Regions from separate parts of the Homo sapiens genome. Here all the other regions are linked to region 1. Evidence: promoter capture Hi-C in 16 types of primary human blood cells and fetal thymus (Javierre and others, 2016). All regions are on one chromosome and are shown on one strand. The core of a region is centred on a gene start or on the middle of the fragment in contact, and the rest is flanking DNA. Distances in the headings are between cores, read along the strand shown. Region 1 holds the start of ZNF684 (zinc finger protein 684). Region 2 overlaps RLF (RLF zinc finger). Region 3 overlaps RLF (RLF zinc finger). Region 4 overlaps LOC105378671 (a long non-coding RNA gene). Region 5 has its middle 44 kb from the start of CTPS1. Region 6 has its middle 17 kb from the start of CITED4. Region 7 holds the start of CITED4 (Cbp/p300 interacting transactivator with Glu/Asp rich carboxy-terminal domain 4).

The links. Contacts are between HindIII fragments. The CHiCAGO score rates a contact against its expected background, and 5 or more counts as called.
Region 2: a fragment that was not itself captured here is called in contact with the fragment with the promoter of ZNF684 in region 1 in 3 of 17 cell types (naive CD8 T cells, neutrophils and naive CD4 T cells); the score reaches 5.3 in naive CD8 T cells.
Region 3: a fragment that was not itself captured here is called in contact with the fragment with the promoter of ZNF684 in region 1 in 1 of 17 cell types (neutrophils); the score reaches 5.6 in neutrophils.
Region 4: a fragment that was not itself captured here is called in contact with the fragment with the promoter of ZNF684 in region 1 in 3 of 17 cell types (total CD4 T cells, naive CD8 T cells and activated CD4 T cells); the score reaches 6.8 in total CD4 T cells.
Region 5: a fragment that was not itself captured here is called in contact with the fragment with the promoter of ZNF684 in region 1 in 1 of 17 cell types (megakaryocytes); the score reaches 5.5 in megakaryocytes.
Region 6: a contact is called between a fragment that was not itself captured here and the fragment with the promoter of ZNF684 in region 1, in 8 of 17 cell types (fetal thymus, M2 macrophages, megakaryocytes and 5 more). The highest score is 8.6, in fetal thymus.
Region 7: the fragment with the promoter of CITED4 here is called in contact with the fragment with the promoter of ZNF684 in region 1 in 1 of 17 cell types (naive CD4 T cells); the score reaches 5.9 in naive CD4 T cells.

What each region holds. Positions count from the first base shown.
Region 1 is chr1:40,529,576-40,532,896 of GRCh38, reverse strand. It overlaps ZNF684 (zinc finger protein 684), which reads right to left and starts at 1,260. Exons shown (of 5, transcript NM_152373.4): 1 at 1,110-1,260. It overlaps LOC124904149 (a long non-coding RNA gene), which reads left to right and starts at 1,351. Exons shown (of 2, transcript XR_007066022.1): 1 at 1,351-1,409; 2 at 1,542-2,319. RefSeq lists an enhancer at 1,166-1,460. The HindIII fragment of the contact is 2,309 bases long and covers 98-2,406 here.
Region 2 is chr1:40,208,890-40,212,726 of GRCh38, reverse strand. The region is part of intron 5 of RLF (RLF zinc finger); the gene reads right to left. Among named protein-coding and RNA genes, the nearest start is that of TMCO2, 37 kb to the left of the region's middle. The HindIII fragment of the contact is 168 bases long and covers 1,699-1,866 here.
Region 3 is chr1:40,184,415-40,187,912 of GRCh38, reverse strand. The region is part of intron 1 of RLF (RLF zinc finger); the gene reads right to left. Among named protein-coding and RNA genes, the nearest start is that of RLF, 25 kb to the right of the region's middle. RefSeq lists a silencer at 1,178-1,367. The HindIII fragment of the contact is 6,433 bases long and covers 1-3,498 here.
Region 4 is chr1:40,145,105-40,148,847 of GRCh38, reverse strand. It overlaps LOC105378671 (a long non-coding RNA gene), which reads left to right. Exons shown (of 3, transcript XR_947232.3): 3 at 597-1,147. Among named protein-coding and RNA genes, the nearest start is that of RLF, 14 kb to the left of the region's middle. The HindIII fragment of the contact is 9,755 bases long and covers 1-3,743 here.
Region 5 is chr1:40,933,812-40,937,416 of GRCh38, reverse strand. No RefSeq gene overlaps it. Among named protein-coding and RNA genes, the nearest start is that of CTPS1, 44 kb to the left of the region's middle. The HindIII fragment of the contact is 231 bases long and covers 2,236-2,466 here.
Region 6 is chr1:40,843,911-40,847,664 of GRCh38, reverse strand. No RefSeq gene overlaps it. Among named protein-coding and RNA genes, the nearest start is that of CITED4, 17 kb to the left of the region's middle. The HindIII fragment of the contact is 9,100 bases long and covers 1-3,754 here.
Region 7 is chr1:40,861,048-40,864,661 of GRCh38, reverse strand. It overlaps CITED4 (Cbp/p300 interacting transactivator with Glu/Asp rich carboxy-terminal domain 4), which reads left to right and starts at 2,299. Exons shown (of 1, transcript NM_133467.3): 1 at 2,299-3,608. The coding sequence starts at 2,535. The coding sequence ends at 3,089. LOC124904157 (a long non-coding RNA gene) reads right to left here and starts at 2,278. Exons shown (of 3, transcript XR_007066025.1): 1 at 1,552-2,278; 2 at 267-494. RefSeq lists an enhancer at 1,913-1,972 and silencers at 2,073-2,272, 2,433-2,512. The HindIII fragment of the contact is 10,972 bases long and covers 1-3,614 here.

The DNA.
Region 1 (3,321 bases), core at 11-2,510:
ATCTAGCACCAAGTGGTTCCTCTTGAAACAGTTATTTTTTTTCCTCCCAGAAATTTATCCTGAAGAAATAATGAATGAGTTGACTCACTTAAAAGCTTGGTCTCTGAAGCTCCGTAAGTCTAAAAATGATTCCTTCCTGTGATTCTCTGGTTTCTACTCTGACGCTGGGATAAGAGATTGCAAATTAGGTTGGGCTTTCTTGAGAAGGCTGGATTCAGGGACCCAGGAACACTTTTTTTTATTTTTTTTTTGTTAAGCTGGATCCTTCAGTTTAAACTCCAAATGTTTCTCTCTGTAGAAACTCGCCATCTCCTATGAGCTTAGAACTGCTGGGGCTCTAGAAAGGGTATAATGGGCAAACCGGGGACTCACATCTTCATTTACACAGTCTGCACTGGAAGATCTGCAGATACACCAAGAGACTCTACAAAATGACTACAAATCGAAATTTACTCAGCATTCATTGCTCAAACATTTCAGGAGAATAAACCCAACTCTGTTTTATGCAGGAATGCTATACTGTAAAAAAAAAAAAAAAGAAATTTGGAGAAAATGTATCTGAGTTTGAATCTCAGTTCTTCCACTTACTAAGCTGTGTGAGTCCAGGCAAGTAATTTCACCTTTCAGCTTCAGTTAACTCATATGCAAAATGGTAATAGCATTTACTTCAAATGATTGCTGAGAATACCCTTCTAATCCATAGCAGTTTCTCAAGAATGCTTTCTTCCTGGATCCCTTGAAATAGCTTACAGTTTCCACTGGATCCCTTGACACGGCTTAAAATTGTCGCAGGCTCCAGTCGGGCCAACTATGCTCTTGGAACCAGGAAAGGTACAGTTAGATGAACAGACTCCTACATAGTGACCTTGACCTACAAGAGCAGGAATGCAAATTGAGCCTCTCCCAGTCCCACCAGAGCCCTGGACATCTACCCAGTGCCAGTCGGAGCCCAACTCTTGCTTTCTCTCAGCTACTCGAGTTGAACAGGACCCACATATCCAAACCTGAAGTCACTGCGCTTGGAGACTAAAGTTTTATCTTCGGTAGGGTAAACCTAGAAGCCAGTCCCCGCCTTTCTCTTACGTCCTCCGAGTCCAGCAAAGCCATACCTGCCACCCTTTCACTGCCTCGCTCGCAGCTCCGGCTCCAAGCCTGGGATCAGTCACAGCGTCGTCCAGAGACAGGGGAGCAACACCCGCCCGCACTTCCCGCGGCGCTGATTTGAAGATTGAATACCGGCTACCGTCCTACTACGCGTGTGCGGAAGTAACTGTCCACCTAGAGTTCCTGGACTCCTCCCGGGTGTAGGCCATCCGTCGGAGACCACATTTCCCATAAGGCCAGTGGAGCTCGTTTCCGGAAGACGTCAGACGCTGCTTCCTCTTGGGGGGTGGTGCGGAGATTCCCGGGTTGGTATCTCTATTGCTAGCCTGAGAGCCACGCTTTTTAAGTCGTTTTCATTTAAAAGGATACACAGCATTTTTAAATACTGGAAAGTAAAATCGGCGGTATGCTAAAAACAATTTGCTCTTACTCAGCAGGGTTTCTTCTAGCAATGCACCAGGTTAAGTCGGAGAGGTGAAGAGGATCCAACAAAGAAGACTGAGAAGGAATAATCCATGAAGTAGATGGAAAAGTAGGAGAGTTTAGATCTGCAAAACCAAGGGAAGGAAGTGTTTCAAGAAGGGAGTGACCCATTGTCTCAAATGTTGCTCATAGGTCAAGTAAAATGAGAATTAAGAATGGGCCACTGTAGCAATGGTCACCAGTGATGTTGAAACGCCATTTTGGCAGTGGTGGAAGTTTGATAAAGTCTGATGAAAATTTGATAGGAGTTGGAGGGAAGGATGGGAGGAGAGGAAATGGAGAAAGCAAATATACGCAATACTTTTAAGAAGTTTTGTTTTTAAGGTGAGCAGAAAAATAAGGCTATCATGGGATAGGGATTTTGTTAATCTTTTGTTGTTGCGTTTTTCCACGTTCTAATTTTTTTTTTTTTTTTAATTCAAAGATGGGGCTGAGTGTGGTGGCTTATGCCTGTAATCCTAACATTTCAGGAGGCCAAAGTGGGAGGATTGGTTGAGCCCAGGAGTCTGAAACTGCCTAGGCAACATAGTGAGACCCTCATCTCTACAAAAAATAAAAAACTAGCCTGGCATGGCACCCGCCTGAAGTCCCAACTACTTGAGAGGCTGAGATGGGAGGATCGCTTGAGCCCAGACAGTAGAGACTGCAGTGAGCCGTGATCCCGCCACTGCACTGCAGCATGGGCGACAGAGCTAGTCTCTGTCTCAAAAAAATAAAATAAAAAAGATGGAAGAAATTATAGTAAGTTTATGTACTAATTAAAAGGATCTAGGCTGGGCGCAGTGGCTCACGCCTGTAATCCCAGCACTTTGGGAAGCTTAGGTGGGCAGATCACCTGAGGTCAGGAGTTGGAGACCAGCCTGGCCAACGTGGTGAAACCCCGTCTCTACTAAAAATACAAAAATTAGCCGGGCGTGGTGGCAGACGCCTGTAAACCCAGCTACCTGGGAGGCTGAGGCGGGAGAATCACTTGAACCCGGGAGGCAGAGGTTGCAGTGAGCCGAGATCACACCACTGCACTCCAGCCTGGGCGACAGAGCGAGGCTCTGTCTCAAATAAATGAATTAGTTAATAAAATAAAACAAAAGATCCAGTAGAGGCGGGAAATACACAATTCAGGATAGACAGGCTAGTTACTCGGAGGAATGTCCTTGAGAAGAGAAGGGATGGAATCCAGTACACAATCACAGGGATCATTCTAAGTAAGAGTATGGATAATTCATCTCCATTGAAATAAAAGGGGAGGCAGAGTTTATAAGTACAGATCCAAACAGGTGGACAAATATGGTGGTAGGAGAAAGAGGATGCCCTGTTCTGAGTGCTTCTATTTTCCCAGTGAAATAGGAAGCTGAAATGAAGATAGGGGGAAAGTATTTTAGACTTGACAGAAAAGATGAATACCGTATTATGATGATTTTGAAACATGATTTTTTCATATTTTAACATCTGTGAAATTGCTGTCTTACAAGTGATGGCATTCCATAGTTTAATCAGGAGCATTGTTTTTTATTAGTATATAAAATAATAATACAACTTATAATCAATGGCATCTGAGATTCGATAAAGTATGATTTATGAATGTGAGCAAGTGAATAGATTAAGGAAATGTAGTACTATTGCCTGGCACCATTAAGAACTGGCTTGATATTAGTAGCCATTATCGCTTCTCAGCCTTTTGGCTAAGATCAAGTGATATTAGTACCCACTGACTTTACTAGCATTTTCTATGCAATA
Region 2 (3,837 bases), core at 533-3,032, 320 kb after region 1:
GAAAAGAAACAACCATCTGCTATTGTGTCTATCAACCACGTCAGATACCGAAGATGTAGTTCATTCAGGGATTAAGAATGAAACGGACCCCTGCCTTAACTGCGCCAAGAACTCTGCTGACAGATTTCTTGAGCTCTTTAAAATAGAAGTGCTTGATGTTTAAAATGTTATCTTTTCTATGTTGAAAACCTGATCTTTGCAAAGACTTCCCCTTTCAGTAATGAAAAAATATAGGAAACATCCACTTGGGACACTGAGCCACTGCCAAGTCTATAACTTTTATTAAAATCCTTTAATATGTAAAGTTAATAGCAATGTCATCTCATTCAATTCTACATAAATAAAGTATCACAACCTAAAACTCCAGGATTCCATGAAATTCTTCTGCCTTCCAGACCTACCAGATATCTGAAAGGACTCACTCTTTACCCACTAGGTTCTGAATTTTGACTTTCAGATGACCCAGTCAATTAATCTTAATTGTATGTGTCTGGCTAAATCTTCCCCAGCAGCGGTTTCCCATTACATATGCCTATTATTGGGATACCCCCAGGTACCAACATACAATGTACTTTTATTCCCAGCTGTTGCTCAAGTTAACTCTTCTCCTGAACTCAGGTGAAGTAGATGGCAAATATGTGTGTAACTCTGCTACTTTAGAACGTATGCTGAATTTAAACTCTAATTAATCAACATCTGGTGACTCACTAGTAATTTTCCAAAGCAAACTACAGATTATTTTTAATTCTGTTGACACTTGCAAAAGAAAAGTATCACTAGGATAAGAGACTGACTAGTGGCTGGGCGTGATGGCTCATGCCTTGTAATCCCAGCACTTTGGGAGGCCGAGGCGGGCGGATAACAGGAGGTCAGGAGTTTGAGACCAGCTGGTCACCAGTAGAAACGGTGAAACCCCGTTTCTACTAAAAATACAAAAATTAGCCAGGCGTGGTGGCACGTGCCCGTAATCCCAGCTACTCGGGAGGCTGAAGCAGGAGAATCACTTGAACCCGAGAGGCAGAGGTTGCAGTGAGCCGATATCACGCCATTGCACTCCAGCTTGGGCAACAAGAGTGAAACACCATCTCAAAGAAAAAGAAAGGAAAAAAAAAGACTGACTAGTTATGATGATACGATGATACTAGGGTTCCTTTAAAATAATTTTAAGATAACTTTATGTGTACTAAATGTTTTGCATTGGTATATTTAACAAATTAATCCACATCATGATAAAAATGTTTTAAATCACACCTATATGTATAAATATGAACAGAATGATATATCACCAAGATGTTCCCAATCAGACCATGGCTTATCAATGTCTAACACATGGAAATAGGTGGTAGAGTGGAAAGAAGGCTGACCAAGGAGCCAGGTGACCTGCATTCCAGCTGGGCTTGGCCTTTCTAATTAGCTTAATGCAGGAAGGGCCTTGGAAACATTATCAGCTTGGCTTCAGTTTCATCACGTGTAGAACACGGAGGGTTAGACCAACCGATATTAAACCACTGAAATAGACTGGAAAATTTAATTCTTGTAGAGCAGAGGTTAGCAAATATTTTTCGTACAAGGACAGACAGAAAATATTTTTAGCTTTTCTGGCCAGAGAGTTTCTGTTACAACTACTCACCTCTGCCACTGTAGCACAAAAGCAGCCACAGACAAGAAATGAATGTAAGACTTTGTGCCAGTAAAGCTTTATTTATAAAAACAGGTAGCTGGGTGGGTGCCAACCCCCTGTTGTGAATAGTATCAAATCGTATTTCCTATAACACAGTTCCCTGCAAACTCAACACAATCAGGAAAAATCCTGTTTCCAAACATTGTTATTAATAAACCAGGAAAGATCATGTATAAAACAAAGCTTATCATCTTCCCAGACTCTCCCTTGTCCCTCCACCCATTCTTTCTTCTAATTAGCAGCAGAGCACCACTATTCTTCCAGTCTCCCAAGCTAGAAGCCTTATGAGCCTCTTGAAGGTATCTCTGTACATCCTCCTCTGTTTTTGCCCGGTCAGCAAGTCCTGTCCTTTGTCCTCTTGCTGGCTACAATCTCTTGTCCTAAACATAATACATATTCTTTCTGTCTAGTCTTCCTAAAACACCACTTCAGACATGTCACTTCCTAACTGCAAAGCCTTCTTAATTTCTACTGCATCAAATCTAACCATTAATGCAATGGAGTTTCCAAGCCCTTCTTTTCCAACCCCAACAGGTCTTATTTCTCACAAGACTTCAATAACCACTCTGCCCTAAGCAGGGTATTTATTCTCCAGTGGATCCCTGCAAAGTACTCATTAGTACCTGTGCTTTACTACCATTCAGTCATCTCCAAACCATTCTTTCCACCCATCCAAACCCCACCATTACTTAAAGCTCCAATTCAAGGATCAATTTTTCTATAAACACAGAATTCTCTATCTTTACACTTCTACTGAATTTAGGGCAGTAATCATTGAGCTTAGTACTTCTCTTTCTGTAACTATTTTTGGCAAACAAACTGGGCCATACAGTTTGCTGTATTTGCCAATGCCTAATACAACATTAGAAACAAAACGGGTTTTAATTAAGCAAAGGCTGAGAGAGTAAAGTTGTTATTATTACAGGATGAGGAATCAAACCCAAAATGTAGTGTTTTGCTGCTGCTTTTGAATTGTTTTGGCATGTGTCAGGTGCTGAGAATAACCATTACTACATCTCAGTCTGATTAACTTTCCCAAACATAAAATACTGCAGCTGCTATTAGAGGTAAGCAATCTATCTCCTTACACTACCTGATACTGCAAATAAATAAATTAGCATACAGGTTTATAGTTGGTCTCTTATGATCGCCTTTTTTTTTTTTTTTTAAGACGGAGTCTCGCCCTGTCGCCCCAGCTCGAGTGCAAATGGCACGATCCTGGCTTACTGCAACCTCTGCCTCCTGGGTTCAAGTGATTCTCTTGCCTCAGCCTCCTGAGTAGATGGGATTACAGGCGCACACCACCACACCTGACTAATTTTTTGTATCTTTAGTAGAGACAAGGTTTCACCATGTTAGCCAGGCTGGTCTTGAACTCCTGATCTCATGATCTGCCCGCCTCGGCCTCCCAAAGTGTTGGGATTACAGGCATGAGCCACTCTGTCCAGCCCATATGACTGCTTTTAAAAATGTAGATGAAGTCATAGGAGGCTATCTCTGTGTATACCACATTGTTTCTCTGTGCAAATTCAGGTTTCACCTCTGATCAATCTTGACTTCGACGGATCCTCCCTAGTTCTGCACCCCAGGCTTAAAGAATTCTTATACTAGGGTCTATGTTTGTAAGGTGTCTAAAATATGCCAAGAACTGTGTTAAGTGCTTTAGATATTATCACATTTAAACTATCCAGCCATTTTGTGAGACGGCTACTACTGTTGTGCCTACTTTATAGATAAGGAAAATAAAGCTACCTGGCCAAGGCTGTATGGCTAGTAAATGACAATGTCAAGATTCAAGCCTACATATTTTGATTGTTGCTTTCACTTCTCTAGATGTCTTGTGAAAAACATACTCTACCTAAGCTCCTCAGTAAATCCAGTCCAGTAATGAGCCACCCACAAGCCTCAGAACTTCAAAGTCCCCTCCCATCTTTTCTGAAGTTTCCCCTCTGGGTAAACAAAAGAAATAAAAACTTGCCTGCACAACAAGTCTACTTTAAGAACCAGAATCCAGAAAGAACCAGAAGGTTGGCAGTGACAGTGAGTTGGATCATGTACATGAGATGTGTGAGTGTCAGATTAATATGTATAAAAGCAAAGCAGAGGCAGATCACCTTGGATTTAAACCCTGGGCACACCACTTACTGGACATCTTA
Region 3 (3,498 bases), core at 977-3,476, 350 kb after region 1:
ACCCTAGAATAATGTCTTCAAACATTCCTAACTTCCTGTCTTTGATTTTTCTGCCTAAACAACTACAAATAACTACAATAGTAGCGCAGGATTCTGCTGGATTTTCTGCAGCTTTAGTTTCCACACAAATGGTCCCTGTATGAGTTCTGGTAACTGACTGTTAGCATCATCTTGATTACTTTAACATTTAAAAAAAGAGAGAGAGAGAAACAACTTACAAGGAAATATACCATAGACCATTATACCATATACAGTAAAAGTTCCCTTAACTAATATATTGCATTATCTGATCTTTGCATACCTGAATCATTACAGTCAGTTGAGCTATTTTTAGTATACCGACCTACTCAATTAAGTATCTTGCTACTTGGTCACAGTCACTTTAGATAAATGCCCTTCTGTAATTTCAGAAAAGCAACATGTCACCACTTAATCAAATCCCTAATTTTAATAAAATAAAAAAACTGAGTAACATTATAAAACTGACCCCTAAGCAATCCTGCTTCCCAGCTGAATTAGTAGAGAAAGAATGCAGAATGGGTGTCTGTTACATAACTAAGATTTCACCTAATTTATTAAAATCAGCCAGGTGCTGTGGCTCACGCCTGTAATCCCAGCACTTTGGGAGGCCGAGGCGGACGGATCACAAAGTCAAGAGATCGAGACCATCCTGGCCAACATGGGTGAAACCCCGTCTCTAAAAATACAAATATTAGAGATGGGCGTGGTGGCGCGCGCTTGTAGTCCCAGCTGCTCAGGAGGCTGAGGCAGGAAAATCGCTTGAACCTGGGAGGCGGAGGTTGCAGTGAGCCAAGATTGCGCCACTGCACTCCAGCCTGGCGACACAGCAAGACTGTCTCAAAAAAAAAAACCAAAAAACAAAAAACAAAGAAATTTATTAAAATCTATGTTACAAAAAAATTCTGGTTTAGGTCAGTAAGTTACTTACTGTCTGCATTGGCTAATCTAAGAATTAAGGAGTTTCAAAAATTTATATTTAGTGCCAGATTTATGTTCCTTAAAGTCAGACATTATGTCTCATCAATCCTTATAGGCCTACCACTCCTCTACCCACTTCCACCCCCACAGGACATTCTCAAGTCTCACTAAATGTCTGCTGAATACATTCACCATTTTATTCATTTGACAAATATTTTTCAATAGATTATCACACATAAAGTGCTAGATGCAGTGGGGGCGGGCAGACATGTGGCCTATCCTCACAGAGCTTTCAGAATGAGTCAATACAACATGATGGCTGAAACCACACATGCAAATTAACCAACTGCTAACTAAAGTATGCAAAGAGAAGGACAGAGTGCATACAGATGGGGTTAGTCTTTCCACAATCCACCTGTCCACTTAGAACGCTCTTGCCACCAATCTAATAGCTTCTGACAGACATTCCACCAGGACTTCTGTAAGCTACACAATTTCAAAGATTCAATACTCTTGAGGAACTTCCAGTTTGCTCTATACTAATTTATACTTTTTATATTCCTAAATCTTTACCCCCTCATGTGTTGGTTCAAATTAAGTAGTGAGATCTCTTATACCCACTATAAGCATACTCTGGGTATGTGAAGAATGGCTGGAATAATCAATCTTCTTCATTATCACTTTTTTTTTAAATTGAGATAGAGTCTCATTCTATCACTGCTGGTGATCCTCCCACTTCAGCCTCCCAAGTAGCTGGGACTACAGGCATGAACCACTGTGGCTAGCCAGGCATTTTCTTTCTTTCTTTTTGTTTTTTTAATCAAGTCTCACTCTGTCACCCAGGTTGGGGTGCGGTGGTGAAATCTCGGCTCACTGCAACCTTCACCTCCCAGATTCAAGTGGATCCTTTCACCTCAGGCTCCTGAGTAGCTGGGATTACAACTGTGCGCCACCAGGCTCGGTTAATTTTCCTGTTTTTAGTAGAGATGGGGTTTCACCATTTTGGCCAGGCTGGTCTCGAACTCTTGACCTCAAGTGATCCGCCTGCCTTGGCCTCCCCAAGTGCTGGGATTACAGGCAAAAGCCACCTCGCATCCAGCCTTTGTGGTTTTTTTTTTTTTTTTTTTTTTGCTTTTTTTTTTTTTTTGAGACAGTCTCACTCTGTCAGCCCAGGCTAGAGTGCAGTGGCACGATCTTGGCTCACTGCAAGCTCCACCTCCCAGGTTCACGCCATTCTCCTGCCTCAGCCTCCCAAGTAGCTGGGACTACAGGCACCCGCCACCATGCCCGGCTAATTTTTTTTTTTTTTTTTTTTTTGTATTTTTAGTAGAGACGGGGTTTCACCGTGTTAGCCAGGATGGTCTCGAGCTCCTGACCTCGTGACCTGCCCGCCTCGGCCTCCCAAAGTGCTGGGAGCCACTGCGCCCGGCTTTTTTTTTTTTTTTTTTTTTTTTTTAATGCAAGATTAGGTTGAAAGGATTACAGCCATCCAAATAACAGGATGGCTGTAATCCTTTCAACCTAATCTTGCATTTAAAAAACTGGACTAGGCAAGGTGGCTCACGCCTGTAATCCCAGCACTTTGGGAGGCCGAGGCAGGTGTATCACTTGAGGTCAGGAGTTCAGACCAGCCTGGCCAACATGGTGAAACCCTGTCTCTACTAAAAATACAGAAAGTAGCCGGGCGTGGTGGCGCATGCCTCTAGTCCCAGCTACTTGGGAGGCTGAGGCTGGAGAATTGCTTGAACCCGGCTAGAGTTCAGTGGTTCAATCACAGCTCACTATAACCTCAAACTCCTAGGCTCAAGTGATCCTCTCTCCCACCCACCTCAGCCTCCTGAGTAGCTAGGACTGGAGAAGTGCATCACCATGCCCAGCCAATTAAAAAAAACTTTTTTTTTGTAGGGACAGGGTCTCTTTGCTGCCCAGTCTGGTCTCAAATTCCTGGGCCTCAAGTGGTCCTCCCACCTTGGCCTCTCAAAGTGCTGGGATTACAGGTGTGAGCCACTGTACCCAGCCACGGTCTCTTATTTTTCTTTAGGAACTGAAATCACAACTGAAGAGAAAAGGGGCAATAAATGATAAAGATGACCTCCTAAAGTTCATTCTACAGTGACCAAATTAATGACCTCTCTCTTTTGTTTCAGTAAACTCATTCCACAAATACCTACTATTTTGTACTGTGCTGGGAAGTAAGGATGGAGACTCTATTCCTGCCCTTGAAAGGCTATGATATATACTAAGGGGTCAGATATATAAGTAAAAAATTAGCTCACTTACGCACCATATTTGACTATTCGGTGCTCTCATTCACATCCCAAGCAGATTACCCTCAAATTACTCTCTCAAGTCCTTGCTATATACCTCAACTGCCTATTACATATTTCCATCTGGATGTCCTATTCAAATCTCAAACTCAGCATGTCCAAAACCAAACATCTTCCCCAGCAAATATGCTCTTCCTCCTATGTTCCATCTGCCTCCTTTCAGGAGCCAGAGCTAAAAAACTATCTTTGAAACCACCACACCAAAGTTTGTTGATTCTATCTCAGAAATATC
Region 4 (3,743 bases), core at 407-2,906, 380 kb after region 1:
TTGGTCTCAATCTCTTGACCTCGTGATCCGCTCGCCTCAGCCTCTCGAAGTGCTGGGATTACAGGCATGAGCCACTGCGCCCAGCCCAAATATTATTTGGCTTTATGTTATCACTGTTGTGTGTGTCTCCCCTCTATAGAAGGTAAGTTCTTTGGAAGTAGAGTGACTTGCGTCATTCACCGCTGTATCCCCAGTGTCTGGTACAGTAGTTCCGGGCATATTGTGTGCACTCAATGTTATGAAAGAAGACTTTTTAAAGCATATGGTATTTAAATGGGTATTTAAATAAGATCCACTGGGGAGAGTATAAACTAAGGGTCATAAATTTATATTCCTACTAGCCTTTGTCAGCTCACCTAAATGAATGACACAGGCTGGGTATAAGATGTTTGGAAAGAATGAGTTGATTAAGAAATGACCCAAGAAGCAGGTACTCAGCTCCAGAAAATTATTGCCATATGAGAATACAGAACTCATTTTACTAGGTCTGCTAATTCTCCAAGATAAATTGGAAGTTCAGTTTTGGTTTTGTTGTTGTCGTTTTTCTTTTATTTGATTTTGTTTTTTAACACGATTTCCTATTTTGAAAACTGCAGGCCAAATAATACCCACCTGTGAGTCCAGTGTGACTGATGAGCCAACGGTCTGCAACCTCAAAACAGAAAGAAGGAGGAGGGTCCAAGATCTTGCCAACACTAAGATGTCAGAGGAGTAGGATCCAGCCATCAAAGAATGTTCAGAACCCACTGAACAGACAGAGGGAAAACCAAGAGTGTGATATTCCTCAAGACAAAAGAAGAAAGCGGCAGGAAGAAGCTGAATGGTCAGCTTTGTAGGCTGCTGACAAGAGTTTGGGTAAGGTGAGGACACACAAATGTCCATTTGATGTGACATCATGAGTATTGGTTGGTAACCTCAACTAGAGAAGTTTCTGTAGATCTCTGGTATGGAATCCTGTCTGAAGAAGATTGAAGAATTAATGTGAGATATGAAAGTAAAAAGAGCAGGGCAATTACCCTCTTCAGAAGTTTTTCTGAGAAAGAGGAGAATAAAACCGGGGCTGTGCTATTAAGGGGATATGAGGTTTTGGAAGGAATTCTTAAAGATAAGTTTATTAGTATGTTCTCATGCCTGTAATAAAGACATAACCGAGACTGGGTAATTCATAAAGGAAAGAGGTTTAATTGACTCATACTTCCACACGGCTGGAGAAGCCTCACAATCACAGCAGAAGGCCAAAAAGAAACAAAGTCGTGTCTTACATGGTGGCAGGCAGAGAGTTTGTGTAGGGGAGCACCCCTTTATAAAACCATCAGATCCTGTGAGACTTACTCACTATCATGAGAGCAGCACAGGAAAGATCTGCCCCCATGATTCAGTTACCTCCCACAGGTACCTCCCACAACGCGTGGGAATTACAATTCAAGATGAGATTTGGGTGGGGACACAGCCAAACCATGTCAACAGGAGATTCTAGAGCATGGTTGCATGTGTATGGAAATGATACAGGAAAATAGGAGAAAATTTAATGTAGAAAACAGGGTGGGGGGATTGCAGGAGAAAAGTCCTTGAGAAGGCAAGAGGGCATGGCATCCAGAATACAAGAAGTTTGATCTGCAATAGAAATTAGATATGTATTTTTATTTCAAAAGGAGGGAATCTGGAGAGTATGGGTACAGATGCAAGTAGGTGTATAGATTTGGCAGTGGGAGATTTGGGAGTCATTGCCTGAGTGCTTCTTTTTGCTCCATGACTTGTGAGAGAAAGCTGAGGTGGTAGAGAAAGGCAATGTTGAGCCTTTGAGGAGACAGTAAAAACTTTGTTAGAGTTGTTTTAGAGTGAGAAAAAAAGAATGCATTCTAGATATGTGCAGGAAGATTGCAGGACAGTGTTGAGTGGCATCATTCATTTACTCAACAAATATTCACTGAAAGTCTACCATGTTTCAGGTACTGTCCTAGAGGCTAAAAATACATCATGAAAAAAAACAAGTCCTGGGTTTTATATTCTTTTCTCCCTCAGAAGTTATAATACAGTTAATTTAATTGCAACTTTCTTTATCATATTCCAGTTCTATGGATACTCCCAGGTCCCCCCCATACCCCCCAACCCAACCACCGGCTTGAGTGAACCTAGATATCTCTCAATACATCATGAGTAAGACACAAACGATGAGTTAGAGTGGTTACATTTTTAAGATCCATCTGTTTAGATTCATGGAACATTGTGGACAACTACTATGGTCAAGGTAAATTTTTCTCATTATGGGTAAAACCCAGAGGGCTCTAGGGTCAGGTTTGTCAGGTTTGGATCCCAGCTCCGACTGCTTATTCGTTGTGTGCCTTTAGATCATTTAATTTCATTGAGCCTTGGGTTCCTCATCTTAAGGTGGACATTGTAACAGCATGTGTCTCATAATTCTCATAGTTGTGGGTCCTAATGAGATTTATCCAAAGAGCGGAGAATGAGGCCAGATGCACAGTAAGCACTCAGTGTCACTAGTATTACTCCTATAAGGTTCAGCTTCAGAGGATAACTTTAGTTTCCTTTACTGTAGTCCCTCCACACCTACTGACCATGGATGCCATCTATTTTCACGACTTTGTCCTGTGAGTGACAAAATGATCAAGAGGACAGACCCATACTGTGGATCATCAAAGGAGCTGATTGATTAGGCTAGGATTTCTGATTTGCAAATTCAATAACTTGATTCTATCATTTCACCTAGGTTGTGATTAAGGCACAAGAGCCCAAATTACTAATTTACCTTAAGAAATATAATGGTATCTCTACAGAAAAGTCAGCTTGGGAAGCAAAATTAACACCGGAAGTTTGCTTAGGGAGGGTACAATTGGTGTAAAGGGAATGAGAAGATCTTAAACCACCATTGTTCCAACACCCTAGCTTCTCCCACGGTTATTTTTTATCCTTTCTTTCTCTACCCCCCAAATCTAATCAGGTTAGATTCTAAGTCCTATTAATTTGTGCTCAGGAAACTTTCTCCCATATTTTCTCTTACCCATTTCTACTTCTCCATGCCTGGGGAATGAGAGTATATAGATAACACAAAATAATGTCCTCTAAAGGTCTTCAAATGAGAAGCATTTGAAGAGTGAGAGTGGCTTCCAGGTGAGGGAGAGGATGTGCTTCAGAAGCTGATTTTGATTATCATTTCCCATGGCTGGACTTGCTGCCATCACCTCCCTGGGACCCTGGGAACATTTTGTTCCTTTCCCAGGGGCTCAGCATTCCCTTCTGGGAGGCTTTGTTGCTCCCATTTTGATGAAGGGTTAGGGGCCCAAAGGTAGAGAACCCCCAAAGGAGATGGGAATCCAAAAATCTCACAGATGCTATTTCAGACTTTCCCCTCCTGCCAAAGTCTCCCTGGAGAATCCTTCTTTCCTCTGCCCTTTGGGAGATTTTATATTTGTTGGATTTAAGGGAGGGGCAGTTCCTTCATCGTACCACTACCGTTAGACATGCCCTACTTTGCTCTTGCTTGAATGATTGCAAGGGCTTCCCAACAGGCATTCCTGCTTCTAGTTCATCCCCTTGCTCCCCGAGATTCATCTTCCTAAATTTGACTCCATTGTTTAAGATTGTTCAGTCCCTTCTTGCTTCAAATAGAATCGAAATCTTCAGCCTGCCTATTAGGTTCTACCACCTGGCCTTATCACCTGCTATTCCTAAAAGCACCAGAATTTCTTGTTAGCACCCCATACATGTTGCTACCCCACCCCCCA
Region 5 (3,605 bases), core at 1,102-3,601, 400 kb before region 1:
GCATGACTGTACATAGGGGTAGCAGAAAACAATCACTGGATCACTGGAACTTAATGAAATTAAAAAAAATAAATGCCAAGCCCTCCCCTCTACTTAAGGGTTTTGAAATCGTTCTGTTTATTTTCAGGGATACCATTTAATTTAATTATAAGACTTGCCTCCACTCAGTTTGTCGCCTTCTCAAATCTGAGCCACATGCCATTCTTCGTTATTGTCAGAACCTAGTGAGTGGTTTTGAACAGAGCTGTTTTTGCCCCTTCCTGTAAAGTGATGTTTTATTGCACAAGAGCACTGCAGAGTTTTCATAATAAACTTGCGAGCTCAGAAAAAATTACTCATGAAGCTCTTATTTGCAGTGTTTGTTATTAAAGCAGGCACCCTAAAGAGTATAGCCAGCAGGGACAGATCCAGGTTTTGTGAAAGCCTGAGGTTTATATAAGTGTGTGTGTGTCTGTGCGTGTGTGTGTGTGTGTGTGTGTGTGTTTGTATGGTGAGGAGGGCTCTTTATGAAAAAGACTGCAAAATTCTAAGTACAAAATTAGGTACTACAGGAGATTGCATTACTGGACCCAATACTTCCCCCCTCCTTGGGTCTACATCTTTGCCATATGACTTTGCAGTTTGGGCCACTAAAGTGTCAGAGTGTATTTCTACTCTTCTTGACTCTGGCCTTGGCCATGTAACTTGCATTGGCCAATGGGATTGAGTGGAAGTGACAGCATGTTACTTCTGAGTCTGGGTCTTTCTTCTTTGTACCTTGTCTTCAACATGAGGGCATTCACTGGTTAGCACAGTGGTCCCAGGAGGAAGATGAGGGATACAGGGAGCAAAGCCATCCAGCTGACCCAGCTTAGATAACCTAGCTCACAGCTGCTGTGGCCTAAAGCATCCCAGCTGATCTGCAGATCTATGCCAATAAATACTTGTAAGCCGCTGAGTTTGGGGACCATATGTTACACAGCAGTACTCTACCAGTAGCTAACAAATGCAGGTATAAACATGAAGGTTTATTTGTAATGAGAAAATAAATCACAACAGATAAGATTTTAGCAGCTGACAAATAGCTCAAAAGTCACAGAATCCAGAAAAATACATAAATTTTCATTAATTGCCATCTGACATACCTCTATAATATCCTATATGTTGGCTACATTTTCTTTGGTTGCCTCTCCAATATAACAACTTAAATTTTTTTTTTTTTTTGTAATTTTGTGTTTCTACAGAGAGGAGGGAGAGAGGATTCTCTCTTTCTTCTGAAATGGTTTATTGAAAAATACTTTTTAATTGGTAATTTAGTAAAGTTTCGTCTAGCATCATAACTGACTTTAGGTCATGTTGTTTCAATTATTAAGATTGTTGCCAAAGTTGTGAAAACCTCCATCAAGTTTCTTTCAGGACATTTTCAATTTTCTTGTACAATTAATTGTAAATCTTCTTTTAATTGATTCTCATTATCCATTTGTCATCAATGTTCTTTTGTAGTGGTACATTGTAAGTTTCATGCTTTCTTAGTTCAGTAATGTGTGTCAACTCAGCAAAAGTAAATATTTTTTCCACTGTGTCCATGATCTACTCCTTTTTATTATTCATTATTATTATTTTGAGACACAGTTTCACTCTCCTTGTCCAGGCTGGAGTGCAATGGCCCGATCTCGGCTCACTGCAACCTCCACTCCCACATTCAAGCAATTCTCCTGCCTCAGCCTCCTGAGTAGCTGGGATTACAGGCATGAGCCGCCACGCTCAGCTAATTTTGTATTTTTAGTAGAGATGGGGTTTCTCCATGTTGGTCAGGCTGGTCTCCAACTCCCGATCTCAGGTGATCTGCCAGCCTCGGCCTCCCAAAGTGCTGGGATTACAGGTGTGAGCCACCGTGCCCAGCCTATTGTTATTATTTTTAGACAGGGTCTCACTTTGCCACCCAGGCTGGAGTGCAGTGGTACCATCATAGCTCACTGTAACCTCTAACTCCTGGGCTCAAGTGATCCTTCTGCCTCAGCCCCCAGAGTAGCTAACTGGGACTGCACTGCATGCCACCATGCCTGGCTAATTTTTTTTTTTTTTTTTTTTTTTTTTTGCTATGGGGTCTTTCTGCCATATCTTATGGGCTAGAAAAAAATTTTATTTAAAAATAAAATAAAATAGATTTGGGGGTCCTTGCTATGTTGCACAGGCTGGTCTCGAACCCTTGGGCTCAAGCAATCCTCTCACCTTGGCCTCCCAAAGTGCTAAGCTTACAGGCATGAACAACTGTACCCACCTATTCCTTTTTAGTAATTGGATTACCAAAGACTCCAGAAGGCTATTTATACCTGCTTTGCAAATTTATCTTTTCCTCTTACTGAGTTACTGCTTTTGGAATGATCTGAAATTCTTTTGTTACCATTTTCTTCCATCGATTTTCTGTTGATTTCTACTGGTTTCATTGTTCATTTTTATGGCCTTTATTTTATGCTCTATTAAGCTTTAAATATTTTTTGTCAGCTATTTAATATATAAATTTAAAGGTAACAAAAGGAAATATGTAATTTCTTAATTGTTTTATTGGAAATCAGATGTCTGTCCTTCAGAGAGGCCTTGACCACTCAAATCATGGAGCTCTTCCCAGCACTTTTTAACCCTTGATTTGACTTTCTTTTCCTTTACAGCAGTTGATCTGATGTTAAATTACGCACTCACGTGTTTGTTGTCTGTCTCCTCCAGTTAGAAGCTAAGGAATTAGCTCCTTGAGCCCTAGAACATTGACAGATAAATAGATATTTGTAAAGTCAACGAATGAATGAGTTCCCTAAGTGCCAACCAGTGTCCACACTGTGATTTCTGTCCAGCTGCTTGACGCACTTCCAGGACTGGTAAGAGTCAGTGACTGCTGAGAATCCACAGTGCCCTGAACCCTACCAAAACGCCCCACCCCCATCTCCTTTGTACTAAACTGGGTCTCCATTTGTGACATCTTTTCCATTAAAAAAAAAAAATGTGTCCTGGAGTGGTGATCCCAGCACTTTGGGACGTGAAGGTGGGAGGATCATTTGAGCCCAGGAGTTTGAGAACAGATTGGGCAACATAGCGAGACCTTGTCTCTAAATAAATAAATAAATAAATAAATAAATAAATAAATATAAATTAAAAAGGGACAGACTCAGACTTTTTTGATAGATTATACAAGTTATTTCTCTCTCAACCCAAAGTCTCTGTTCAACCTATAGTTACTTTGCCTACTTTTATATTCTTAATATAGCATGATTTAACTTTCTGTATTATTCTTACCCCCCCTTAAACGAGTAACCCCATTTGCAGCCTCCAACTCAGCATATCCTAAACTGAATGCATCACGTCTCCCTGCACGTGAGCGGGTTCATCTTCAGTTGTTCAGCCACTCAGGCCATGAGTCCAGACGCATTCTCAGCAGTTCTCTCTTCCAATTGCTGCCCATTCTCCATCAGTCACTTATTTCTGTCATTTCTTTGATCTCCTCACCATTTCTTTCATGCTTGCATTTCTCTCCTTCCCCACAGCCAGCACCCCAGTCCAAACCCCTGTCTTCTCTCACCTGGATCAATCTCCTACTGGTATCCTCTACCAGTCTCTGAAATGGTTTGTTAAGA
Region 6 (3,754 bases), core at 871-3,370, 310 kb before region 1:
GGCCAAGCCCAAAGTCAGGGGGTTGGTAGAGTGGATGCTATGGGGTTCCACCCAGATCCACCCTTCAGAGCCTGCTGGGAATCTTCTGCTGGCTCACAACTGTGTCACTCATTGGGAATTGCCCTTGGCCACAGGGAACTGCCTCACCCACAGTCATGGCCATGATTGGCTAATGATTGGCTGATGGTTTCCTTTGAAGGAAAACAAAGGCCTGCCTTCTTCCTTCAGTTTAGCACAACTCTTCGGGGATAGATGAGCTCTAGGGCTCCTGAGGATCAGCAGCTACCTCAGTTGCTATCGCATAGTAGATCAACCTCTCCTTCTGTCTAATCCTACCTCCTACCTTCCTTATAGATGAATCTCCTGAGCACACTCCCCTAAAAACCTTCTGCACACCACTCTCTGTCTCGGAATTGGTTTCCAGGAAACCTGCTGTAAGACAGATAGGCAAGTACACACCATGCAAGGGTAACCATGGCAATGGCAAGGAAGGAAGGAAGACTTTCAGACAAAGAATACAATCGACTACAATAGTTACATAAAGGATACATCACAGAGACAGATCTATTTTGCCTGCAGCAAAATGCTAGGCACATGCTCAATGTGTATGTAAGGGGAGAATTGAGGCCACCTCTGGGAGGTTCCCATTTTTTATTGCACTGATTATATTTTGTATATTAGGATTCCAAATAGGTTATGCTGTAGCAAAGGTTCCTGGGCCTTCAAAAAAGGGTTTTCAAATCACTTGGTTCCATGATGTCTATAGCTCTGTTCAGCTCTGCCAGTTGGGATGGGGCAAACCCGAGTGATTCTCAGATCCTGTGCATTTACAGCAGAAAATGCGTCAGGTTGGTGGGTGAAATCCCTGTTGCAGGTGTCATTGGCTGAATTGCATCCCTCCAAAATTCATATGCTGAAGTTCTAACCCTCAGTTCCTCAAAATGTGACTGCATTTGGAGATAGGGCCTTTAAAGAGGTAATCAAGTTAAAATGGGTTTTTTAGGGTGAGCTCTAATCCAATATTACTGGTATCCTTATAAGAAGAGGCGATAAATACATCAACAAGCAAAAACCAACCCCATTAAAAAGTGAGCAAAGGATAGGAACAGACAATTCTCAAAAGAAGATATACAAGTGGCCAAAAAACATGAAAAAATGTTCAGCATCAATCATCACTAATCATCAGAGAAATGCAAACGTAAACTACAATGAGATATCATCTCACACTAGTCAGAATGGCTATTATTAAAAAGTCAAAAAATAACAGATGTTGGCGGGGTTACAGAGGAAAGGGAATGATTATACATTCTTGGTGAGAATGTAAATTAGTTAAGCAATTTGGAGAGTTCTCAGAGAACTAAATATAAAACTACCATTCCACTCAGCAATCTCATGACTAGATATATACCCAAAGGAAAATAAATCATTCTACCAAAAAAACACATGCAACTGTATGTTCATTGTAGCACTCTTCACAATAGCAAAGACATGGAATCAACCTAGGTATCCATCAATGGTGGACTGGATAAAGAAAATGTGGTGCGTATATACCATGGAATACTATGCAGCCATAAAAAGAAGGAAATCATGTCCTTTGCAGCAACTTGAGCAGCTGGAGGTTATTATCCTAAGCAAACTAATGCAGAAACAGAAAGCCAAATACTGCATGTTCTCACTTATAAATGGGAACTAAACATTAGTTACACATGGACATAAAGATGGCAACAATTGACACTGCAGACCACAAGAAGGGAGAGGGAGGGAGGGGATCAAGGGTTGAAAAATGACCTGTTGGGTACTGTGCTCCCTACCTGGGTGATAGGTTCTGTCGTATCCCAAACCTCAGCATCATGCACATCATGCAATATACCTTAGTAACAAACCAGCACATGTGTCCCCAAACCTAAAATAAAACTTGAAAAAAGAAAAGAAAAAGAAAACTAGGAACACAAAGAAGAAGAGGAGGAGGAGGAGGAGGAAGAGGAAGAGGAGATTATTAGGACACAGAGAGAGACCTCAGACCTGTGTACATAGAGAACAAGAGATAATCATGCAAAGATACCAGAAGAAGGCAGCCTCTACAATCATAGGAGAGAGGCCTCAGAATGAAACCAACCCTGCTGATAACTTGGTCTTGAATTTCCAGCCTCCAGAACTTTGACTGTGTGATCATGCACTTCTGTTGTTTAGACCTTCCAGTCCATGATATTTGCTATGCCATCCCACACAGACCAACACACCGTGGTAGCAGCTATCACGGTCCTGCTATACACAGAGGTGGGTGGTAGGGGAAGATGTGCCTCTCAGCTTCTCAGAGGGAAAACGAAACTGTTTTAACAATTGGAGCTGTCAAAAGTACGTGAAATATGGCCCAGTGCAGTGGCCACTGCACTCTGCACTCTCAAAAAAACAAAAGTACATGAAATAAATTATCTAAATAGAGAAATAACTGCATGGGTTTTTTTAGATCTACAAGAGTGTAAACATCGCAACGTATTCAGAGCACCCATCAAAGTGAGCTGAGCCCCTTGGTACAGCTTCTGAGCCTGGGCCTCCAGAGGCCTGATGGCTTCTGCTTTTGCCCTCTTGCCATATGAAGAAGTACAGTCTAATCTACTGGAGGATGAGAAGCTCCATAGAACAGAGATGAGCCGTCTTGCCTGCAGACCAACTCACACCAGATTGCAGACACGTGGGGAAGGCCCTCTTGGGCCATCTAGACCCTGTTGATGCCAGATGATTGCAAGCACATTAGTGACCCCAGGTGAGACCAGCAGAGCTGTTCAGCTGAGTTCACCCCAAATTGCTGACCCACAGAATCAAGAGTAAATAAAATAAAATAGTTGTTATTTTAAGCCATTAAGGTTTTTTGTTGGTGGTTTTTTGTTTGTTTGTTTGTTTGTTTTGGAGACAGAATCTTGCTCTGTTGCCCAGGCTGGAGTGCAGTGGCATGATCTTGGCTCACTGCAACCTCCACCTCCCGGGTACAAGCAATTCTCTGCCTCAGCCTCCTGAGTGACTGGGACTACAGGCGCACGCCACCATACCAGGCTAATTTTTGTAATTTTTAGGAGATGGGGGTCTCATCATGTTGGCCAGGCTGGTCTTGAACTCCTGGCCTCAAGTGATCCACCCACCTCGGCCTCCCAAAGTGCTGGGATTACAGGCATGAGCCACCACATCTGTCCTAAACCATTAAGTTTTAAAATAAGTTGTTACAAAGCAATAGATAAATGACACACCAAGCTAAAATTGTATCTGCTGTCAAGGCCGTATTTGATGACAGTTTGGGGACTCCCAGAGCCACCTGCAAACTCTCCTTGCTGAGCCAGGCAAATTTAGAAGATAAACAGTAGCTGTGCATTGGTTAATTGTGCATCTGTCTCCCCCAGGGGCTGGATGACCTCAGGGCTGTAACTTGTTCTCCCGTGTCTGTTCATCCTGTATATTGTGCTGAGGCAGGGTCTGGCATATAGCGGGTGCTCAATAGACATTTAACTCAATTAGTGAAATGTCATGGGACTTGTTCGGGTTACCAGCACCTCCTGCTCGGGTGACTGCAGCAGTCTCCTACCTGCTCTCCCCACACCCACACTTACTCCCTCAAATACATCTTCCATCCCAGGAAAAAAAAAAAATTCTAAAATGCAAATCTACCCCAGTGTGCTGCCTGAGAAAAATCTTTTATTGTCTCCCCACTGCTATCATGGCTAAGTCCTATCTCTTTGGAATGATTAATGAAATCCTGTAAACT
Region 7 (3,614 bases), core at 1,050-3,549, 330 kb before region 1:
CACCTGAGCCTCCTGGGTAGCTCAGACTACAGATACATGCCACTATGCCCAACTAATTATTTAACTTTTTGTAGAGACACGGTCTCACTATGTTTCCCAGGCTGGTCTTGAGCTCCTGGGCTCAAGCAATCCTCTCACTTTCATCTCCCAAATTGGGCAGATTTTCCGTCTTTATCAAAGCCCCCACTCACCCACCCCTTACCCCCCACATCTCCAGATAAGTGTGAGGCATGGCCAGGTTTAAGAATTTCTGTGAGAAGCCTTACCTGTAGAGAAAGATTCAGGAGAATAAATTCCAGGGTGTAGCTTTTTACACTTTGCAAAAATGTGACCACACCCATGGTCATTTATCACTACCCACAAGCTCTCAGGCTGACCAGGCAAGATCACCGTCTCCCTTTCACAGAGCAGAAAGCTGAGGCCCTGGGGAATCAAGTAATACTCCCCGCTCAACACTCAACAGTCACAGCTGGTTGGTGGTGGAGGTCACACACCTGTGGGTGGCAGAGATATGATTAGAACTTGGGCCTCTGGCTGGGCGCAGTGGCTCATGCCTGTAATCCTAGCACTTTGGAAGCCTGAGGTGAGAGGGTCACTTGAGGCCAGGGATTCGAGATAAGCCTGAGGCCCTCCTCACTCCCCCACGCCGCCCCTCCCCCCCGCTCCCTTCTCTATTTAAAAAAATAAGAAGAAAGAGGGAAGAAAAGACCTTGGGCCCCTGAATTCTCACTCTAGGGCTCTCCCCTCTACATCAACTGGATAAACCCAAGTTCCAGGAAGTCCCAAGGATGCCACAGGTCGGGGGAAGGTCAGAGAAGGGAGAGAGAGTGTCAAATGCGTGGAGGGTAAGGTTCTGGGAGGCTGTCTCCTGGCCACAGGAAAGACTCCAGTTGCCCTAAGGACTTGGAAAACACATGGCATTCACACGCTAACTCTGGCTGCCTGTGACCTCAGGACAGCCACTTTCTCTTTGTGTGCTTCTCCTTATCACTGAAATGGGGCTGATAATCCATGCCCTGCCCCCAACAAAATACTTGTAGAATGTAAAGCACTTTAAAAGTCCAAGTTATTATTGCTGTTATCAAGAGAAGGCCCTTTGGGACAGAACTTAAATAGCCTTGGCCGGGCGCGGTGGCTCACGCCTGTAATTCCAGCACTTTGGGAGGCCGAGGCGGGCGGATCACGAGGTCAGCAGATCGAGACCATCCTGGCTAACACGGTGAAACCCCGTCTCTACTAAAAATACAAAAAAAATTAGCCGGGCGTGGTAGCGGGCGCCTGTAGTCCCAGCTACTCGGGAGACTGAGGCAGGAGAATGGCGTGAACCCGGGAGGCGGAGCTTGCAGTGAGCCAAGACAGCGCCACTGCAGTCCAGCCTGGGCGAAAGAGCGAGACTCCGTCTCAAAAAAAAAAAAAAAAAGAACTTAAATAGCCTTTCTTTCATCTAAGGGACACTTTTGAGCATCTACCACATACCAGGCACTGTGCTAGGCACTGTGCACACATGCCCTCACTTACCCCTCACAAAGGGTCAGTGCTGCTGTTCTTTACCTTTTACAGATGAAGAAACTGAGGCTCAGCTGAGAGTTGCAATTCATTCCATCATTAGTTCATTCACTCAGCTTTTACTAAAAGCCTGCTCTGGGCCAGGCTCTGGGCCAAGTGCTGAGAAGAAGAAGATGAACAAGTCCTTCAGGAGACGTGCCCATAAATTAATAACAACTAAGTACATGCTTCAACAGACAAGGTGCAGTGGGAACTAGAGGGGGAGCAACAGGCTCTCCTGGGGGTTATGGGAATGGACAGCTGACCTCCTGCGGGGACCCTGCACCGCTAAGGTGCATGCGCCCTGTGTAGCTGTGCAGTCTCACTTTGATCAAGGCTTTGCTGTGTATTTCCAGGAAGCCTCTTCCGCCACTGAGCCTCGGTCTCTACCTGGAAAGTTAAAAGGTTGCGTAGGCCTGACATCCTGCAGCTCTTGGGGGGCCTAAAACTCTGGCCCTCCCACCCCACCTTCTGGTCAGTTCAAGCTCTACCCCAGCCAAGTCCGATTCCGAAGCCCTGAGGGCCAGACCGAATCCCTCCGAAAGTGCCAAATACCCCGCCCCAGGGCGGTGCTCAGAGCCTGGGGCGTGGCCGGAGTCCCAAGGGGCGGGGTTCCAGTGGGAGGGGCGGGGCCAAGACCTAGATGCAGGCGTGCGCGGCCCGCCCAGAAGCGTCTCGCCCAGCCAATGAGCGTCCGAGGGCGGGGAAGCCCCGCCTCTGGGTATAAGAATACGCCGAGCCCAGCTACGCGACGCGGAGGTTTCGGAGCACTACAGGTTGCGGGCCTTTGTGACCCCAGGCTGCGGCCGCAAGGTGCGCAGTAGTGGGCTGGGCCGGGGCACCAGTCGGGTTTGGTTTTGCTCCGCCCGGCCGAGCTGCAGGGACCGCACGGTGCCCGGGTCTCCCGCCGCAGAGCAGCCGCTGGCCCGGGCCGGGGGAGCCGGCGCTGACCACCGCGCGCTGTCCCCGCAGGCAGCCGGCCTGCCGCCATGGCCGACCACCTGATGCTCGCCGAGGGCTACCGCCTGGTGCAGAGGCCGCCGTCCGCCGCGGCCGCCCATGGCCCTCATGCGCTCCGGACTCTGCCGCCGTACGCGGGCCCGGGCCTGGACAGTGGGCTGAGGCCGCGGGGGGCTCCGCTGGGGCCGCCGCCGCCCCGCCAACCCGGGGCCCTGGCGTACGGGGCCTTCGGGCCGCCGTCCTCCTTCCAGCCCTTTCCGGCCGTGCCTCCGCCGGCCGCGGGCATCGCGCACCTGCAGCCTGTGGCGACGCCGTACCCCGGCCGCGCGGCCGCGCCCCCCAACGCTCCGGGAGGCCCCCCGGGCCCGCAGCCGGCGCCAAGCGCCGCAGCCCCGCCGCCGCCCGCGCACGCCCTGGGCGGCATGGACGCCGAACTCATCGACGAGGAGGCGCTGACGTCGCTGGAGCTGGAGCTCGGGCTGCACCGCGTGCGCGAGCTGCCCGAGCTCTTCCTGGGCCAGAGCGAGTTCGACTGCTTCTCGGACTTGGGGTCCGCGCCGCCCGCCGGCTCCGTGAGCTGCTGAGGGCGGCCGGCGCCCGCCCGGCGTGCCGGAGAGGAGAAAGGGCCCGACTGCCCGCCGGACCCTGCACCCAGCGACTGGGCCCCGCGCGCGCCCTCCGCGAGGGTGGAGGCGGCGGCTGTGTGCGCAGGGCCCGGCACCGGACTGGGACCCTGGCGTCCCTCCAGGCCTTGCCTCCTGCGGGAGGACAGTTTGGCTTCACTTCTCTGACCCCAGCCTCGGCCGTAAAGTGAAAGAGACCGGACCAGCTTCAGCTTTCGGACTCTGGTTCTTGGATCGTGTCCTCTCCCCCTCGCCGCCCTCTTCCCCCAATCTGAGCCATTGCAGGCCTCTGCCTGCTGCCCCCTCTCTCCTCGGGATCGGGTCCCCAGAGCCACCATCTCCTGAGCCTCCCACCCCGCTGCCTGGGCCCTGTGGTTGCTGGGCCTCCCACCTCAAGGAGGGGAAGGTTGTACAGCCCGAACCCGTGGAGCAATGCCCTGTCTGGCCTCCAAAACCAAAATAAAACTGGGTCACTTTACAGTCTTG